Regions from separate parts of the Homo sapiens genome. Here region 2 is linked to region 1. The links are contacts of gene promoters, found by promoter capture Hi-C in blood cells and fetal thymus (Javierre and others, 2016). All regions are on one chromosome and are shown on one strand. The core of a region is centred on a gene start or on the middle of the fragment in contact, and the rest is flanking DNA. Distances in the headings are between cores, read along the strand shown. Region 1 holds the start of RASIP1 (Ras interacting protein 1). Region 2 overlaps DBP (D-box binding PAR bZIP transcription factor).

Region 1 (6,251 bases), core at 2,099-4,598:
GTGCAGTGGCACGATCACGGCTCACTGCAACCTCCACCTCCCAGGTTCAAACTATTCTCCTGCCTCAGCCCCCTGAGTAGCTGGGATTACAGGTGCCCGCCATCACACCCAGCTAATTTTTGTATTTTTAGCAGAGACGGGGTTTCACCATGTTGGTCAGGCTAGTCTTGAACTCCTGACCTTGTGATCCGCCCGCCTCGGCCTCCCAAAGTGCTGGGATTACAGGAGTAAGCCACCGCATCCGGCCTCTACTTACAATCTTTACTGAGCCTTGTTGGAGCCCACTTACTACTTACCTGCGTCCTGGTCCTGTGCCTTCGTCTGACCATCTAGGAATGTCATAGATGATCTGGCCCCAGCCCTTAGCCCTGACCTCTCCTTTTAGCCATGCCCCTTAGTGGGCAAATACAAGCCTTGACCCTGCCCCTCCAGGTGTGATGTTGCAAACTCTGATCTGGTGCAAGAACTGCAAAAAGGAGGTTCACGCTTGTCGAAAGTCCTACGATTGCGGGGGTGAGAGAACTGGACCCAGCAGGAGGAATTGGTGCAGGTGGGGTGGGGCGAGAGGAGAGGCAGTCTAGAGAGAGCCTAGATGGGGGTGTGGGGGCAGTAGACAAGAAAAGGTAGGGTTTAGGCCAGGTGCAGTGGTTCACACCTATAGTCTCGCACTTCGAGAGGCTGAGACGGGAGGATTGGGAAGCCAGGAGTTTGAGACCAGCCTGGGCAACATAGCGAGACTCTATCTCTACAAAAAAATTTAAAAATTAGTCAGGTGTGGTGTTGCGTTCCTGTAGTCCCAGCTACTTGGAAGGCTGAGGCAGGAGGATTGCTTGGACCCAGGAGTTGGAGACTGCAGTAAGCTATGATCATACCACTGCACTCCAGCCCAGGCAAAAGAGTGAGACCTTGTCTAAAAAGAAAAAAAAGAGGCCGGGCGCGCTGGCTCACGCCTGTAGTCCCAGCACTTTGGGAGGCCGAGGCAGGTGGATCACAAGGTCAGGAGTTCAAGACCAGCCTGGCCAAGATGGTGAAACCATCGTTTTTGTACTAAAAATACAAAAAAATTAGCCAGACATGGTGGTGGGCACCTGTAATCCCAGCTACTCAGGAGGCTGAAGCAGAGAATTGCTTGAACTCAGGAGGCGAAGGTTGTAGTGAGATAAGATCGCGCCACTGCACTCCAGCCTGGGTGACAGAGTGAGACTTCATCTAAAAAAAAAAAAAAAAAAAAAGAGAGAGAGAAAGAAAAGAGAAAAGACGAGGTTACAACAAATGTAAAGGATTAGGGGAGGGTAAAGAACCGTGAAGGAGGCCCGGCGCAGTGCCTCATGCCTGTAATCGCAGCACTTTGGGATGCTGAGGCAGGCAGATCACCTGAGGTCAGGAGTTCCAGACCAGCCTGTCCAATATGGTGAAACCCCATCTCTACTAAAAATACAAAAATTAGCCAGGCGTGGTGGCAAGCGCCTGTAGTCCCAGATACTCAGGAGGCTGAGGCAAGAGAATCGCTTGAACCCAGGAAGCGGAGGTTGCAGTGAGCCGAGATCGCGCCAATGCATTCCAGCCTGGGCGACAGAGCGAGTCTCCATCTCAAAAACAAAAACAAAAACAGAATCATGAGTGTCCCATGGTCATCCCCCACCCCCAGAGCGGAATGTGGAAGTTCCTCAAATGGAAGACATGATCCTGGACTGTGAGTTAAACTGGCATCAGGCTTCGGAAGGCCTCACTGATTACAGCTTTTACAGGGTGAGGGCCTCAACTTCTGTAACCCTTGAACTCCCTAGACTACAATACTTGTGTTCTGGATCTATGGGCCTGCACCCACGATTCTCATGACCCAGGAGGGTGGTCTATTAGGTGTGGTCTCTACAGACCTCTGGGGACCCCGTGCCCTGACCAGTGACACCCTGGACACTCACCTCCCACACTGAGGCCCTGTGATCTTCTCACCCCTGTACTCCCCCAACCCCTGAATTCCTCAGGCCTCAGTGACCCCTTGAGCTTGGGTCTAGGTTTGGGGGAACAATACGGAGACCTTGGTGTCCAAGGGGAAAGAGGCCACCCTGACCAAGCCCATGGTGGGTCCAGAGGATGCAGGCAGCTACCGCTGCGAGCTGGGCTCTGTGAATTCCAGCCCAGCCACGATCATCAATTTTCACGTCACAGGTCAGTGCTGTGGGGCTGAGAGAAGTGTAGGATTCAGGGCCCAGGAAAGCTGGGGTCCGCGGCGGGGGCGTGGCCTTGGCGATGGGGGCGTGACTTCCTGTTGGGTGTGGTTTCGGGGCACGGGGTGTGGCTTCCTGCCGGGGGCGTGGCCTCTGGCCCCGAGGACAGGGGTTCCCTTGGGTGTGTTCAGGCTTGACACTGTTGAAGGCGTGATTATCTCTGGGATGGCCGGCTACTGGGACGGGCTTGTCTTTGCCAGGGCAGGAACTCCACGCCCTGCCAGGACTGCTCTTTACGCTTTCTCTAACAGTGTTGCCCAAAATGATCAAGGAGGAAAAACCTTCTCCAAATATCGTAACCCCGGGGGAGGCGACCACGGAGTCGTCCATAAGCCTCCAGCCTCTGCAGCCCGAGAAAATGCTGGCAAGCCGCCTTCTGGGGCTGCTGATCTGCGGCTCCCTAGCACTGATAACCGGCCTTACCTTTGCGTAAGCAACCCATTGAAGAAGACAGGCTTGGCTTGGAGTAAGGGGCGGGGCTTCCAGGAACCCAACACAGAAGCTGGTCTGGGGGCTACTGAGGCCTGAGAGCAGGACTTTCCTGGGGATGGAGTGCGGGGGGCTTGAATAGGAGGACTTCGAAGGGCGAGGCTTAGGTAATTGCTAGAATAAGGTCACAAAGGGGGAGGTTGGGAGGGGTGTCCCCCACACAATTAGTACCCAAACCGGTTCCATGATCTGCACCCCACTCCCACCCCTAGGATATTTCGTCGAAGGAAGGTGATCGATTTCATCAAATCCTCACTGTTTGGCCTTGGCAGTGGAGCGGCCGAGCAAACCCAGGTCCCAAAAGAAAAGGCCACAGATTCGAGGCAACAATAAAGATTTATCTTGTTGTCTAAGCATCTGACTCACTCCCCGGGACGGGACTGATTCTAGCCTTTGGTTCCCCGAGAGGAGAGGTCTGGGGATGGGCTCCGGCCTGAGGGAGGAAGGGCAGAAAACCGGGACCCTTGGGTCCTGGAGGGGACCAACTGACTGCGATGTAATTCCAGAATCAAGGAATGGGGCAGGGCCAACCCTACCCAGATCTCCTCCCCCAGGCCTGGTCTCCTCACAGGACGCCCCCTCCCCGCTCTTCCTGCCGGGTTTCCTCTTGCCTTTTCCTGTCCCCCACCCAGTGCTGGGAGCCGTGGCAGAGGCAAGAGCAGTGGAACTGACCCAGGCCAGTGGAGCCAGGGCCTCCGGGTGTGCCGGACCCGAAGCAGGGTAAGAGCCAGGGACCCAGCAGCCCAAACCCCTCCTCCCTGGGCCCCAAGACTCAGTCCCCCAGCCATCTTCCATCCCAGGACCCAGGAATCCAGGGTACCATCCCTCTCCTCCCCCTGGACTCGCAAGTCTGAGCCCCAGCCCCCTCCTCCCTCTGACTCGGAGTCCAGGTTCCCTCCACCCCATCCCCACAAGAATGCCTTAGGAGTTGGGGCCTTACCCGCCTTCCCTTAGGGCCATGCTGTCTGGTGAACGGAAGGAGGGCGGAAGCCCCCGCTTCGGGAAGCTTCATCTCCCCGTGGGCCTGTGGATCAATTCCCCCAGGAAGCAGCTGGCGAAGCTGGGGCGGCGCTGGCCCAGCGCAGCCTCTGTCAAGTGAGTGCCATCTCTGCAGGACTCCTGCCCCTGCACACCTGCTTCCCATCTGTCCCTGTTCACTGCCCAGTCCCTGCAAAGTGTTGGCTCCGGTCCTCATCCTGAATTGGGCAAACGAGCTGGTGGGCAGGGGGAGACGGTGGGGCACAGTGATACCAGGGCGCGGTGGGAGTAAGAGCTAGGCTAGGAGGTGGAGTGAGGCCGGATGGGCACGGGGACGGGGACAGAAGGAGCAGGGGGATTGATTCACCTTCCTTCCTCCCCTCCCTGCTCACCTCTTGGAATTTCCTACTGTGGGACTTGCCTTTATTTATTTATTTTTTCTCTCTCTCTTTGCCTCGCGTCTGTCCCCACCCTCACCCCCGCCCCGTCCATCCACCCTGGGTCCCTGTCCTCCCTCTGGGTCTCTGCCCACTTCCCTCCTAATATGCCCCCACCCCCGTCTTGGCGTGTCGTCCTGGGTCTCTCTCCCGCGACTCTGTTCCCCGGCGGACTCCCAGGTCTTCTTCGTCGGACACGGGGAGCCGCAGCAGCGAGCCGCTACCTCCGCCCCCGCCGCACGTGGAGCTGCGGCGAGTGGGCGCTGTCAAGGCGGCCGGGGGAGCCTCCGGTAGCCGCGCCAAGCGCATCTCCCAGCTCTTCCGGGGCTCGGGGACCGGGACCACGGGGTCCAGCGGCGCAGGAGGCCCTGGGACCCCGGGGGGCGCGCAGCGCTGGGCCAGCGAGAAGAAGCTGCCGGAGCTGGCGGCGGGCGTGGCCCCCGAGCCCCCGCTGGCTACCCGCGCCACGGCGCCTCCGGGGGTCCTCAAGATCTTCGGCGCCGGACTGGCATCGGGCGCCAACTACAAGAGCGTGCTGGCCACGGCGCGCTCCACGGCGCGCGAGCTCGTGGCCGAGGCGCTAGAGCGCTACGGCCTAGCAGGCAGCCCCGGCGGTGGCCCCGGCGAGAGCAGCTGCGTGGACGCCTTCGCTTTGTGCGACGCTCTGGGCCGGCCCGCGGCGGCGGGCGTGGGAAGCGGCGAGTGGCGGGCGGAGCACCTGCGCGTGCTGGGCGACTCCGAGCGCCCGCTGCTGGTGCAGGAGCTGTGGCGGGCGCGGCCCGGCTGGGCGCGGCGCTTCGAGTTGCGCGGCCGCGAGGAGGCGCGGCGCCTGGAGCAGGAGGCCTTCGGGGCCGCGGACAGCGAAGGTGAGCGGCGGGCGGGGCTCTGGGGCGGGGACTCGGTGCCAGAGAGGCGGGGTCCGTGGGGCGGGGCCTGGGCGGGGCTTGTGGGACTCGCGGGCTGGCTGGGGGCGGGGCCCGCGGGAGGGGACTGGGAGGGGACTGGACGGTGCGTGTTGGACTCTAGGCAGAGCTAGAGCAGGGCCGGGGGCGGCCAGATGGGCGGGCCTGAGAGTTGGGTGGGGCTTGTTGATTGAGCAGGAGTTTTACAGGGGCCAAGCTTGGGGCTTAGGCGGGACGGGGGCTGGTTGCTGGTGGTGGCTTGGAGTGGCCTGAAGTGGCTCCGAATTGGGGTTAGGGCCTTCTGCAGGCATTTCAGACTGCCTTGGAGGAGGTGGGGTGTGTAGCGGGGTCTGCGGAGTAGTAGATCCTGAGGAGCGTTTGTGGAGTCCAGTGGAATGGGCAGGAGTCCGCAGGGGCCTAAGGGATTCGCCCTGTGTGGTAGGTTAGAGGACACTAGCAATTTGCTGATCTTTGAAAGTTCCTTTCTCTAACCAATCCCCACTTTCTGGTAAGGTTTCTGCGAGGTCTGTTAGGTGTACATCCTGCAGCTTAATGGCTTAAACTGTACTCTCCTTTGATGTGGTCTCTTGGGGCCAATTAGGAGAAAGAGAAATCAATAGTGCAACTGTTTTGATACTGAATATTGACAAGGGTCTTTTTGAATTAAAGAACTAGTCCTGGCCGGGCGTGGTGGCTCACGCCTGTAATCCCAGCACTTTGAGAGGCTGAGGCGGGCGGATCACCTGAGGTTGGGAGTTCGAGACCAGTCTGGCCAACATGGTGAAATCCTGTCTCTTCTAAAAATACAAAAATTAGCCGAGCGTGGTGACGCATGCCTGTAATCCCAGCTACTCGGGAGGCCGAGACATGAGAATAATTTGAACCCAGGAGGCAGAGGCTGCAGTGAGCCAAGATCGCGCCACTGAACTCCAGCCTGGGGGACAGAGCGAGACTTCGTCTCGAAAAAACAAACAAACAAACAAACAAAAAACTGTCCTCCAGAAAAAGAAAAAGGAATTGGAGACCTAGGAGCCGGAAGAGTAAGCACGGACAATGTTCTTGGGAGCGATGCAGAGCAGATGGGCGGGGCATGTTGTGGGGCGGGGCCTGTGGTGGGGCGGGGCTTGTGGAAAAGCGTGGTCTGGGGCAAAAACTGTTGGGTCCCGCGAGGAGTGGTGGCATGTGGTGAGCATGGGTCTCTGTGGTAGGAGGCAGCT
Region 2 (5,831 bases), core at 350-2,849, 110 kb after region 1:
GGTACAGGCGCCTCCTTTCGAACCAATCTTCTGGAACCTTAGAGCAGCTTCTCCTCCTCTTTCCAGCGAGTAGCTCTTAGACTCTAACTTGAGAGCTTTTCAGTGCAGTAGATTCTTTTTCTCTGGACAGTCTGGGGTCTAAGCTTAGGTCGTGGATTCGGTAAGTAGGATTCAGGCTAGACTGTGCATCTGAAGTCCTGAGGTTTTAGAAGCAATAGCCCCATCGCTTCTCGGCCTTTTGGCTAAGATCAAGTGTAGAAGCAATAGCCCTGATTCGTGTGTTACCTAGGGCAAGTCAGTTATGACTGGGACTCAGTTTCCTTGTTTGTAAAGGTGGATATGGCTCCATGATCTCTAAGCATCTTTATGGCTTAGGGGAACCTTCATTTTTCTCGTTATTTTGGAGACGGAGTCTCGCTCTGTTGTCCGGGCTGGAGTGCAGTGGTATGATCTCAGCTCACTGCAACCTCCACCTCCAGGGTCCGGGTTCAAGCAATTCTCCAGCCTCAGCCTCCCTAGTAGCTGGGCTTACCGGCACCCGCCACTACACCTGGGCAATTTTCGTACTTTTAGTAAAGATGAGGTTTCTCCATGTTGGCCATGCTGGTCTTGAACTCCTGACTAAAGGTGATTCGCCGCCTCGGCTTCCCAAACTGCTGGGGTTACAGGCGTGAGCCACTGCGCCTGGCCAAGGGAACCTTCATATTTTATATTAGGGAGATTAATCCCTGGCCGAATTTATGCTAGATCCCAGAAGGACTTTCCATGTGGCTATGATACCACAGCAAAAAGTAGCTTCAGGAAACCCCCTCCTTAAAATACACACTCAGCTGACACGTGCTGTTTCCCCAAGGCCTGACCTCTCGGGACACACCCAGCCCTGTGGACCCAGACACCGTGGAGGTGTTGATGACCTTTGAACCCGACCCAGCTGATCTTGCCCTATCAAGCATTCCTGGCCACGAGACCTTTGACCCTCGAAGACATCGCTTCTCAGAAGAGGAACTTAAGCCCCAGCCAATCATGAAGAAGGCAAGAAAAATCCAGGTGCCGGAGGAGCAGAAGGTGAGCAGAGCTGGATGTGGGAGATAGACTTGGCTGGAGACATGCCCCACAGCCAGGGAGGGGCCTTTTCTCACAGTCAAGCCTGGGCTTCTCCTTGGGATTAGTGCTCAGCCTCTCCTGGCCTGCAGCCACAGATTAGTCCTCCTTGGCCACGGGGCACAAGGGGGCAGGGGCCTGAGGTTTATAAAGACAGTGTCAACTGGGCGAGGGGCCTCACTCGTGTAATCCCAGCATTTTAGGGGGCTGAGGCAGGAGGATCTCTTGAGCTCGGGAGTTCAAGACCAGCCTGGGCAACATGGCAAAACCCCATTTCTACAAGCCACTTGGGAGGCTGAGGTGGGAGGACTGCTTGTGCCTGGGAGATTGAGGCTGCAGTGAGCCAAGATTACACCACTGCACTCCAGCCTGGGCAACAGAGGGAGACCTTGTCTTAAAACAAAAGACAGTGTCACTGTGGGGTGCTGACTCAGCCAGCTCTGCTAGGTCTACTTGTAGAGACTTGGAGCTTCTCCTATTACTTGGGTCCAGAGCTCCACCAGGCACACTTGCAAAGGACAGTCTTCCTTTGGCAATGGGATATCAGCCTGTGGCCTGTCTCTCCTTACTCAGCAGGCCTTTGATCTCTGATGTGGGACTTCCTTTGGAGTGATTGCATTTGGCTAGGATGAAGACTGTGCCAGCCCCTTTAGGCCTTGTTTCCTGGGCCTGGACTTCTCACTGGTGGGAGACTTCAGGCTTCTGTTAGCAGCCAGTGCCACTTTCTGATTTGGGGTGATTTGAGCAGTCATTGCATCTTTGCATGATTTTGTTTTTTGCCATTACTGGAGTCTTCCCTAGCAAGAGTTGCTTGGGCTTCTGTTACAAGACTTTGTCATTCCGGGCCAGGCGCGTTGGCTCACGCCTGTAATCCTAGCACTTTAGGAGGCTGAGGTGGGCGGATCACTTGAGGTCAGGAGTTTGAGACCAGCCTGGCCAACATGGTGAAACCTCGCCTCTACTAAAAGTACAAAAATGTTCCGGGTGTGGTGTCTCACACCTGTAATCACAGCACTTTGGGAGGCCGAGGCGGACAGATCACGAGATCAGGAGACCATCCTGGCCAACATGGTGAAACCCCGTCTCTACAAAAAAATACAAAAATTAGCTGGGCATGGTGGCACTCATCTGTAGTCCCAGCTACTTGGGAGGCTAATGTAGGAAAATCGCTTGAACCCAGGAGACGGAGGTTGCAGTGAGCCGAGATCGCGCCACTGCACTCCAGCCTGGGCGACAGAGTGAGAACTCCATCTCAAAAAAAAAAAAAAAGAACAAAAATTAGCCGGACATGGTAGCGGGCACCTATAATCCCAGCTACTTGGGAGGCTGAGGCAGGAGAATCGCTTGAACCTGGGAGGTGGAGGTTGCAATGAGCCGAGATCATGCCACTGCATTCCAGCCTGAACGACAGAGCGAGACTCCATCTCAAAAACAAACAAGACTTTGCCATACCCTTGCGTAACACATAGCTACTTGAAGCACCTAGGACTGGCCTGGAAGTCAGATCTACACCAGTGGTTTCTCCTTCTAGAGGGCCCTGTTGCTAGGGACTGGATTTACCCTCACAAGCAGGAACTGGGCTTTAATTAAATAGTGGAGTAGAGAGCATCTTTCTGAGCCCCGTGGTCCTTGGTTACTAAGGAGGAGTCTTCCTTAGGAACCAACTTCCAGGATGGGAGGACTTTAGGTATAATCCTCTGGGGAGGTCTCAGGATAGTCCCCTTTCCTAAGAGACAGCTCTTCTCTCAGTCAGGTCCTACTGGGGAGGAGGCTATTCTCTGGCCTCAGTTCAAGGCCAGCAGGTCAGAGGCTGGCCACAGTCATTGAAACCACTTAGACCTCACTTTTGTTTGCCAAGGATGGATGAGGTTGCCTTGGCAACCAGGTCAGAAGGCCCCAGCTCTGCGAGGATTTTATGGGACACCAAACCCCATCACCAGGGCACCAAGCTTTCCTTAGCAACCAGGATCTGGAAAGGCAATGTGCAGGGCAGGGCAGTGCTCTTCATTGGGAGAAGCCCTCAGACCATGAAGGCCTTGTTGCTAGGGAACAAGCATCCTTAGCAAGCAAGAGCTAACTGCATGCAGGCCTTTATCATGTGGGGAGGGCTGGGGTCCGCTTTGCAGAGTGGAGACTTGAAGCGAGTTGCTTGAGGGTGGGGGGTCTATCTCATGCCTTTACTGTTGCTAGGGGCCCAATCTCCTTAGCAACCAGGGCCCTAGAAAGGCAGACCCTTGGGTACCTATCCCAGCAGAGACCTGGTGTGGTTTAGGCCCCGCTGCTGGGGCTCCCTTCCTCTCTCGCTGGGACCTGGGTCCCTCTGGACCTCAGTGCTCTCCCCCTCTTCTCCTGCAGGATGAGAAATACTGGAGCCGGCGGTACAAGAACAACGAGGCAGCCAAGCGGTCCCGTGACGCCCGGCGGCTCAAGGAGAACCAGATATCGGTGCGGGCGGCCTTCCTGGAGAAGGAGAACGCCCTGCTGCGGCAGGAAGTTGTGGCCGTGCGCCAGGAGCTGTCCCACTACCGCGCCGTGCTGTCCCGATACCAGGCCCAGCACGGGGCCCTGTGAGGCTGCCCCACATCCCCACCTGGCGGAGCTCTCCTCCGCCTTGCTGAGACTTACGCCCTGTTCCCTTCCTGCCCTGTGGCCCACGGGCCGGCCAGCTGGGTGCCCCAGGGACGTGATAATGCAGATAAATACATTTATATTTTTAAGAAAAAGCGAGCCTCCCCCCTCCCTTGCGGGGGCGGGGAGGGTTCTCTGTGTGTGTCCCCGGCACGTCAGGGACCCTATCCTCCCACCGCCTCCGTTAACACGATCCTGAATAAATCTTGAGAACCCCAGAGCCAGCTGTTGTGGAAGAAGAGGGCAGCTCCCTGGCATACTGGCTGCAGCCCGTGGGCAGCTCCGGGCTGTCGTCCATAGAGGGCAGGCGCTGCTGGAAGTGCTGGAGTCTGAGTCCTCCCGCGGGCTGTCGGATGGAGGAAGGGCAGAAGGTCTGAGAGGAATGAAGCGACTGCCTTTATTGCATAGACCTTTTCAATTGCTTTTTAGATTGGGGACGGAGGACGCGCATGAGACGAACAGGGGATATGAATTTCCCCGCCCCCACCCGCGGGGAGAGGAACATTAGTGCAAATCCTAGCGCCGGCCCCGGGGAACCTGCCCCTCCTGGGCTGATTGGCCAGCTAAATGGAGGCACCGGAGTGGATGGGGCGAGGCTGCGGGCCCTGACCGGCCGACTCACTGAGGCCTACCCCAGCCAGTACATTCCAGGTCCTGTCATTGGGCGACGCGTAAAATAGACTCCGCCCTCAGCCATCCTGGCCGGGTAGGAGCAGGTGGCAAGCGTCAGGACTGAGCCCTGCCCCGTAAGGGCGGCCCCAGATCAGACGCCAGGCCCCGCCCTCATTGATCAGGCACTACCCTCGGGACGAGCCCATTTCTCTTTAACCGTGACGACGCCCACCTTCCAGCATCACGTCTGGTCCCATGAAAGCGAGCGCAATCCTGAGACGGGGCCAGGGCCCCTGCCACCACAACTCTAGCAGCCAGGCCACACCCCCTAGCTCAGGCTCCGCCCCATTGGAATGTAGGCCCCGCCCCCGGCGGGTACCAAGCTTGTTTAGTTTCAGGGCTCCCGCCCCGGGCAGCCAGGAGGCCCAGTGAGCAGTGTACCGATGCCAGGGTGCATCTGTGCCTGTAGCGGCCCATACTCCACCTGCTCCCCGTCCACTGTGAGCACGCCGCGTGGTGTGAGCGGCTCTAGGCGGAAGGCACGGGCCGCGGCGTAGCCCAGCTGCGGACAGCCCAGGCTGAAGTGGCTACCACGCTCCATGGCCAAGAAAAGGCGCAGCAGCGCAGCCCGCGAGATGCCGCTACGCACCCAGCACAGGTGCACCAGGCCGTCGTCGAAGCGCGCATGCGGAGCTGCCACCAGGTCAGCGCCTAGGTGGCTGGGCGAGATGGCCAACATGAGCACAAAGTCCCCCTCCAGCGTCACCCAGTCTGGGGGCAGCGGGGTGCCCAGCGGAGGCAGCAGGTGGTCGGGCGGGCCGCAGGTGGAGGCCCCTACCCGGGCATCAGGGGTGGGAAGTGGGAGCCCAGAGGATGGGGGAATTACGGGGGCCCCTTCGGAGACGGGTGAGTGTAGAGCTGCCTTGGGAGAGCCAGGAGGTGAAGACAGCAGTGGGTCCGGGGACAGCGGAGCATCCCCAGCCCCACCCCAGTCCCCAGCCAGCTCTGGGCCCCCACCGTTGAGGGACAGGATGGGCAGGGGTTCTGGCGAGCCAGGAGAGGCCAGGGCAGGCTGGGGCAGGGGAAGAGGCAGGTCAGACACAGAACGATGCAGGGGTGAGTGGGCCATGGGCGGGGCTGGGTCTGGGGTTAGGGTCAGCTCCGACTTGGCACGAGGCAGGCTATGGGCAGGGGTGGGCGAGGCAGGTTCCACAGTGGCGGGGAGGTAGGAGAGGCGTCCGCGGTAGGTGTGCAGTGTGGCGAGGCCCAGCACCGTGCCCAGTGTGAAGCGGGCACTGCCCAAGGCCCTGAAGCGCTCGCTCTGGATATCCACATCTGACACGAAGCCCCAGGCCACAGACAGGAAGGAGAAACAGCGGGAGCCCGAGGCCAGCGTCACGGAGAGCAGGTCCAGTGGGTGGCCACCACCCCGGCACAGCAACAGTGAGCAGTTGAGCAACAGGTCGAGGCCCAGGGCTGGCTCAAATCTT

What was found. Contacts are between HindIII fragments. The CHiCAGO score rates a contact against its expected background, and 5 or more counts as called.
Region 2: a fragment that was not itself captured here is called in contact with the fragment with the promoter of RASIP1 in region 1 in 2 of 17 cell types (megakaryocytes and erythroblasts); the score reaches 6.2 in megakaryocytes.

The regions. Positions count from the first base shown.
Region 1 is chr19:48,737,707-48,743,957 of GRCh38, reverse strand. RASIP1 (Ras interacting protein 1) reads left to right here and starts at 3,348. Exons shown (of 12, transcript NM_017805.3): 1 at 3,348-3,437; 2 at 3,672-3,812; 3 at 4,313-4,998. The coding sequence starts at 3,676. IZUMO1 (izumo sperm-oocyte fusion 1) reads left to right here. Exons shown (of 10, transcript NM_182575.3): 6 at 433-513; 7 at 1,649-1,749; 8 at 2,016-2,169; 9 at 2,480-2,657; 10 at 2,930-3,106. The coding sequence ends at 3,050. RefSeq lists a cis regulatory region at 2,070-3,495, an enhancer at 4,556-5,095 and a silencer at 4,613-5,132. The HindIII fragment of the contact is 9,865 bases long and covers 1-3,725 here.
Region 2 is chr19:48,628,678-48,634,508 of GRCh38, reverse strand. DBP (D-box binding PAR bZIP transcription factor) reads left to right here. Exons shown (of 4, transcript NM_001352.5): 3 at 854-1,065; 4 at 3,457-4,479. The coding sequence ends at 3,672. SPHK2 (sphingosine kinase 2) reads right to left here. Exons shown (of 7, transcript NM_020126.5): 7 at 4,104-5,828. The coding sequence ends at 4,736. Among named protein-coding and RNA genes, the nearest start is that of DBP, 5.8 kb to the left of the region's middle. The HindIII fragment of the contact is 2,907 bases long and covers 146-3,052 here.